Regions from separate parts of the Homo sapiens genome. Here region 2 is linked to region 1. Evidence: promoter capture Hi-C in 16 types of primary human blood cells and fetal thymus (Javierre and others, 2016). All regions are on one chromosome and are shown on one strand. The core of a region is centred on a gene start or on the middle of the fragment in contact, and the rest is flanking DNA. Distances in the headings are between cores, read along the strand shown.

Region 1 (3,572 bases), core at 304-2,803:
TAGAACGTCAAGATGGCCAGCCTGTGTGACAAGGGACCCTATCTCAAAAAAAAAAAAAGAAAAAAGAAAAAAGGTATCTGAGGTAAGAATTAGAAAGTCTGGGCCGGACACAGTGGCTCACGCCTGTAATTCCAGCACTTTCGGAGGCCGAAGCAGGCATTATCACCTGAGGTCAGGAGTTTGAGACTAGCCTGGTCAACATGGTGAAACCCCATCACTACTGAAAATACAAAATATTAGCTGGTGTGGTAGTGGGCGCCTGTAATCCCAGCTACCTGGGAGGCTGAGGCAGGAGAAATGCTTGAACCTGGGAGGCTAAGGTTGCAGGGAGTCTTGCGCTACTGCACACCAGCCTGGGTGACAGAGCTAGACTGTCTCAAAAAAAAAAAAAAAAAAAAAAAAAGTCTGGGTTAAAATGGCTCTACCATCAAATATGATAGAACTATATGAAATTATTATTTTAAAAAGTCAAAACCAGTCAAATACTGGCAGTTTCATGTCTCAATCTTAGGTGTATGACCTCAATTAATTCTGATGCAAGTCACTTCTCTTCACCTTAGTTTTATCAAGTCGATAAAGTTCAATAGCTGACACGTGCCATTTACTTATAACAACTCCCACAGTAAAGGTGTTTGTGTCCTTTACTTCATCATTGCTAGTATCTTCTCCAATTCCTTCCAGGCCAACGTTAAATTAAAACCTTAACTACCTAATTCCCAAAAACTAATTTTACCAACTTTTAAATAGAACAAACGCTTTGCAATTTTACCCCACAATGCCCAAATGAATACTACTACACAAAAACCTGCAATTACTTTCAAAACAAGAATTCGTAAGTTCATGTCTCGAATTCCTATAATAAACTAAAACTTGACGGGAGCAATGGACTTACACTTTTTCCAGCACGATTCCTTTTGCATGAGAAGCACCTCCAAAAGGGTTGGCCTTTAGGGCTGTGCCCAAATGAGCTTTCTTATACTGTTTATCATGCCACTTCTGGTCTCGTCGGTGACTACGGAGCTTCCTAGCAGTACGAAGTCCACGACACTTGCCTAAAAATTAAATATTTTAGTTCTTCCGTAAAAACACGCCATCTACGTGTTTCCCATCTTCTAAGACACTCGCCTCACCTGGAATAAACCCTTAAGCCGATTGGCTCTCGTACTATTTATTGGCCTGTGGGCCAAACATTTGGCCTTCAAGTTGCCCTGAACCGACTAATAAACGTTCGAAGAGGGCTCCGGAGAATGTGTTCTCCCGAAGGACGAGGCCCCGCTCGAATGCCCGGGAGGAAGCGCTGGCCTCCCTGCGTCCCTCGGTACCCCGACCTCGGCGGCCTCCACGCCTCATGGGCCCCTTCCGCGCCGGACCACGTGCCTCCTGGAGCGGCGCTTCCCCGGCCCTCCCCCATGGAGCCTCTCCATGGCATCCCCCGCCCTACTCTATTCGCATCCGCCCGCCCGTCCCCAAGACCCCAAGTCCCGCTTGCAGCGCCCTTAAACCGGCCACAACAGCTCACCCATCCTGTCGGCGCCACGGGCCTGAGCGAAAGAGAGAAGCACCGCAGGAAGGAGCCACAAGCCACCGCGAGCAAGCCCCGCCCAGCCAAGGACCCCGCGCCGCTGTCTGCGCCGCGCCTGACCCGAGGCTGGGGTCTCTCCTTTGAAAACGACGCGTTTGCATCACTTTCCTGAGCCAGAATCTGCGTCTTATTTAATTTGCAAGAAATTCAGAGATATCTAATTTGCATGGTTTTTTTTCCCCCTTTTTCTTTTGAATGCTGGAGACCGGAGGAACATGGACTACCAATCCCAGAATGCGTTTTATGGGACCCGCTCACCGCGCAGGCGCTCTTGCCCAAGCCACTGAGAGCGGGACGCGGGGCTAGGTCAGAGTAGGAAGGAGTCGCTGAGCTGAATCTTTGTGGAGTGGAGTGGGGCGAGAGTCCTCCGAGTAGTCTGGAAAATTAGACTTCTGAGCCTTAATTCATACTTATAAGCAGCTAGTAAATTGTAAAATATAGTGAAGCAATGTAGTGTAGTAACTAAAACCCCAAGCTTTGGAGCCAGATTGGGCCTTTAACCCTAAAGTTGCCGTTTATTTTGACTGGCGAGTCATTTACTTATAGATTTATTTATTTTTATTTTTATTTTTTTCTGAGACAGGGTCTCACTCTGTCTTCTAGGCTGTTGTGCAGTGGTGCGATCTTGGCTCACTACAACCTCCGCCTCCCGGGTTCAAGCGATTGTCCCACCTCAGCCTCCTGAGTAGCTGGGATTACAGGCTTCCACCATCACGCCTGGCTGATGTTTGTATTTTCAGTAGAGAGGGGGTTTCACCATGTTGGCCAGGCTGGTGTCGATCTCCTGACCTCGAGTGATCCGCCCGCCTCGGCCTCCCAATGTGCTGGGATTACAGGCGTGAGCCACCGCGCCTGGCCATTTAATTAACTCTTTAATACTGTTTCTCCTGTAAGATGAACTAGCTGTGAGAGGTTTCTGGGATATTGGTTCACTCAGCAAGGATGTTTAAAAATGCCTTCTATGTGCCAGACGCTGTTGTAGGTACCGGGAATATGGCGGTTAAATTAAGAGGGTGAAGGTTTCTGCTCTGATACAGTTTATATTCTAAATGTGAGAGGACAGACCAGTTAGATAGATGTAAATTAAATAATTAAATAGATGATTTTTACATACTGTAGAGCTATAGAGAAAATATAGCTGGATGGGTGATAGTGACTTGGGGATGGGGGTGGCTACTCTGGATAGGGTAGTTTAAGGTGACATCTCTGTGCAGATGTAGAATGGGCTAGTGCTTTCTAAGAACTGAAAGATCAGTGAAGAAGGGGAGCATAGTGACTGAGGAGTAGTGTGGCATTAGATGGGGTCTGAGAGTTACACAGGAACATGTGGAGCCTGTAGGCCATGGTAAAGCCTTTTTCTACTCTTCTGGTGATTTAAAGCCATTGTAAAGTTTTGAGCTTGGGAGTAGGTAGCAAAATAAGATTTATATTTTTATGGGGTTACTCTGGCTGTTGAGAGGAGAAAAAGACATGAATCTGGGAGGCCACTTGGGAAGGTATTGCAATAGTTCAGATGAGAGATGGTGATAGCTTGGACCCTCAGTGGAGACAGTAAAAAGTGGTTGGGTCAGATACACTGTTTGGTGGTAGAATGAACAGAATTTGCTCAGGACTGTAGGATGTGAGAGAGGAGTTAATTACAGCACTATGATTTTTGACCTCAGCACTTGGGTGAGTTGTAGAGTTGTGAGTTGTGAGTTGGGTGAGTTCCAAAGTGGGAAATACGAGGAGAGGAGCAAATTTCAAAGGAGGAAATGAAGAGTTCTGGTTTGGATGTGTTAAGTTTGAACTGTCAAACATCCAGGGATGTGAAGTGGACAGTTGGATATATGATAAGAAGCTGAGGAGTAATCAATGAATAAATAGTATTAAAACTGTGGCTCTAGTTGAGATAGCTTAGGTGATGACTGTAGGTAGAACAGAGATTAGAGTCCTGAGCACACCAAAGTTTAGTGGTACAGAAGAGAAGGCAGGTGAAGCAAAACAGATG
Region 2 (3,436 bases), core at 673-3,172, 1.3 Mb after region 1:
TCATTTTACTTTTTATAGATGCTTTGGCTAAGGGTGATTTGGTTGCATAAGGTGGGATAGGGCTTCATTTGTAAATCCACTATCTGAGGCTGTTTATTCAAGTGCAGAGGAAGCCAGACAGGCAGGGAACGTTATGGAATCATTTATATTTATCTGTCAGTATACCTCCTGGCAAAATGATTTTCACAACACTGTTTTCAACTAAAGACTATAGTGTCTATGGGACAGCCCAATTAAGGAGCTATCAGAAACTCTTACATGCTTTCATCATACTGTTCTGTCTGACAAACCTCTCCAACAAGTGGTTTAAAATCAAATTGTGGAGCTCAGAGATTTAAAGCTGTCATATTGCTTCCTTCTCTCTTGGACCCTCTGGAGTAAGATTCTCACGAGGCGATTCTCTGGGCTCCACATTGTTCCTTTCTTCAATGATTCCCCCCAGCACCATCAAAGCTGACCCTTCCCCACTGGACACTGGTGTCTTCAGTGGATCAGACGCATTTACTTCAAAGGGAACCATCACTTTAGATGGCCATGTATAGAGGCCGAGGACTGAATAAAACTGACATTGCCATTCCATTTTTAAAATATTGGGGAGTTTTTGGAATATTTAGTTTGTTCTGCAGAAAAAGCCCTGACTTTATTCCTAAACATTTTAAAAAACATTTTCTGCATCTCCTTCACTTTTTTTACTTCTGTCATCTCTACATTGTCAGGACTCAAATGTCACACCCCGTGAGGCTGCTGGCTTCCCTGCTTCCTGGGAAATTATCACAGCTTCCTTCTTCTCACTTTCCATTCTACAGTTGGGAGAAAACAGAGAGACTTTCTCTCTTCTACATTTGTCCAAATCTGGTCAGGAAGTTCTAGAACAAGTTACTAAATCACAGATTCATAAATATCTTATTTTCTAGCTCTAACCAACTCATCTTGCTATGATAGTTGTGATATAAACTAAAAAAAAAACTAATTGATAGGACAATTAGTACAATTAATTGTACAATTAACCTTCATTACTTAAATTCTTCTTAAAAATATTTCTGGAAGATAACTCAATTTTGCATTTTGTTTTTCATTTTGGTAAGCATAGTTCAGCTTTGGCAACTTAATACCTACAATTTCCAACACCCACTTGTCCCCCTTCACCAGTTGATTCGAGTTGATGCACAAGAATGTCCAGATGTGTGGATTTGACTTTAAATCCAGAGGCTCCTTCTTCTTCTTTCATAAATAAACACATCAGTCTGTCAAGCAAAGTATTGTGAGAAAAGCCAGCTTTGAAAAAGGTAGAAACAATAAAGAAATAGCCCTTACCCAGGAAGAGACACTTAAAAGGGGCAGAAAAAATGGAGTAACAAATCACGGACCATAAACCATTATTGTTTTTCTGCAGCAATGTATCATTATTACCCTTTCATAAACACAAAGGTTCTTATTCCCCTTCCTCTCCCAGATGTCTTGGACATTGAAAAGAGAATACGGAGTATTCATTAATTCCAGTGCTTTCTAAGCTTGTTGTAGATTTCTGCTCATTTGAAAGGATTTCACATGATTTGACAGAAAAACAATGCAAAACACAATCCCCACAACAAAAATTTAAGTTTTCCTTTTCCTACCTGAAGATCTTAGAAGACTTTCTATACAACATTTGCAGATGGATGTATGTCAGCTGTGATGTGGCATTAGCTCTAAGTCAAATACCATTTCTCTGTGAACAAGTCACACTGCATATCAACATTAATTTAATTATGTTAAACTTCACAGGCTTTATTGTATTAATCCAAAAGCCAAGGAAAACATGCTCTTTTCTCATTCTTTAACACATTACTCATGAGTGGAAGAATTCTCAGATTCCCTTCTGTGAAAGACTACTGAGTTCTTAATGAAAATTTTGACTTGTGTTGTAGTTTAATTTGATTTGGAATCAAGAACTGATTCTTCTGATTCTAAATGTGAGATATTATGAGTCATAGAGTAGTTCTAGAACGCAACTCTGCTCTCTGCCTTGTCTTTCAGTTCAGATAGCTAGTGGTGGGTTGAACAGCTGGAAGAACCATATTTACTCACTACTGGAAAATCATTTTATAATTGACAAGATTATTATAAAGAATAAGAAAAGGAGATTTAGTGCAGTAGCATCTCACAGATGCTTTTCCAACAGTCTTCTGTGCAACTTTAAAATCTCATGCAGATATTTAAATCTAATTGCTAATTAGTTTAAGGCAATGCATAACCATGGAAAAGGCCAAAAAAAAAAAATATATTGAATGAGCTTTGGCAGTCTCTCCTTACATTTGGATCGTCAGCCCTTCATGACTGGAGACCTGTGCAAATAAGCTTGGGGTAAAGGAGCCTACTGGCACCATTCATTCTATGGATTAAATGCAAGTTGCTCTCTGGGCCTCTGCCTGAGGCCCCCTCTCTCACAGTGGTCTCACAGTGCGAGTAACTCACATCCTTCTGAAAATGCTGTTGATAATTGCTGCTTTGTAGGGCAGTGAGCTCACACTATTACACAAGATTAGTGCTGTTCTCAAGAGCTGGCCAGATTGTCTTTCCCGCACAGAGGTTTGCCAGCTAGGAAAATAATGGGCATATTGCCACTTTAACAACTATCAGGAGACCCCAAGTTAGTTTTTCTTCCCTTCAGCATATTCATGTTTGTAGGATCCAACTCCAGGCTGCCAGCATAGGGTAGTGACACCAAAACAAACGTCTCTTTCTCCTTTAAAACAAAGCTGCTCTTTTCTTTTCAGTTGTCGGTCAACGAATTACCCTGTTCAACTAAAAGACAGCAGCAAAACCATAACCTCCCTTAAAACATAAATAAAGAAGGACCCAGACTAGACTAACCTTAAGCAAGTACAAGGATCAGAAGAAGGTTTATCTTTACCTTGCAGGGAAGTCATTTGCCCCTAACAAACAAGACAAAGTTAAATGCACCACTCCCCCTCCAGACTGCAAACAAATGCCTATTGTGTACACCAGCCATCTAGGGATAAAAAAGTCATTTTAAAGGTACCAAATGTTTTGATTTCTGTAATAAGTAGTCCTCATAGCCTCTTTTCAGATAACCATTTGACCTGTGTTCTGAAAGGCTGAGGCTAACCCCAAGTGGTTATTCTGTTTGTTATTTAGTGAAAAGATGGTTTCTTATCGGCATATGTTTCAAACAGGTACCTGTCCTCTTGGGAAAGTGTTTTCTGTTTGGAATTTGCTTTCCTACTTCGGTGGTTATCTGCTTGCCCTTGGTATCCAGTGCGTTTGGATTGAATTTTGTAGCTCTGGGAGTACAGCAGTGGCAATATGGGCCCCAGGTGATGAAAAGAGTTTGCGCACAAAGAAGTCAGCTCTTACTGCAGGTGTCATGTTTTCATAGCTAATCTAGATAAATTTTTACGGAAAAACAAACTAACTGTGACTCACGCTGCAGACA

What was found. The method cuts DNA at HindIII sites, captures the fragments that hold promoters and counts their contacts. A CHiCAGO score of 5 or more calls a contact.
Region 2: a fragment that was not itself captured here is called in contact with the fragment with the promoter of RPS23 in region 1 in 2 of 17 cell types (fetal thymus and M0 macrophages); the score reaches 9.3 in fetal thymus.

What each region holds. Positions count from the first base shown.
Region 1 is chr5:82,276,801-82,280,372 of GRCh38, forward strand. It overlaps RPS23 (ribosomal protein S23), which reads right to left and starts at 1,554. Exons shown (of 4, transcript NM_001025.5): 1 at 1,520-1,554; 2 at 893-1,052. The coding sequence starts at 1,523. It also overlaps the pseudogene ATP6AP1L. RefSeq lists an enhancer at 1,545-1,874. The HindIII fragment of the contact is 8,285 bases long and covers 1-2,055 here.
Region 2 is chr5:83,560,415-83,563,850 of GRCh38, forward strand. The region is part of intron 12 of VCAN (versican); the gene reads left to right. It overlaps VCAN-AS1 (VCAN antisense RNA 1), which reads right to left and starts at 1,900. Exons shown (of 3, transcript NR_136215.1): 1 at 1,617-1,900. LOC124901021 (a long non-coding RNA gene) reads left to right here and starts at 1,801. Exons shown (of 2, transcript XR_007058847.1): 1 at 1,801-3,018. The HindIII fragment of the contact is 826 bases long and covers 1,510-2,335 here.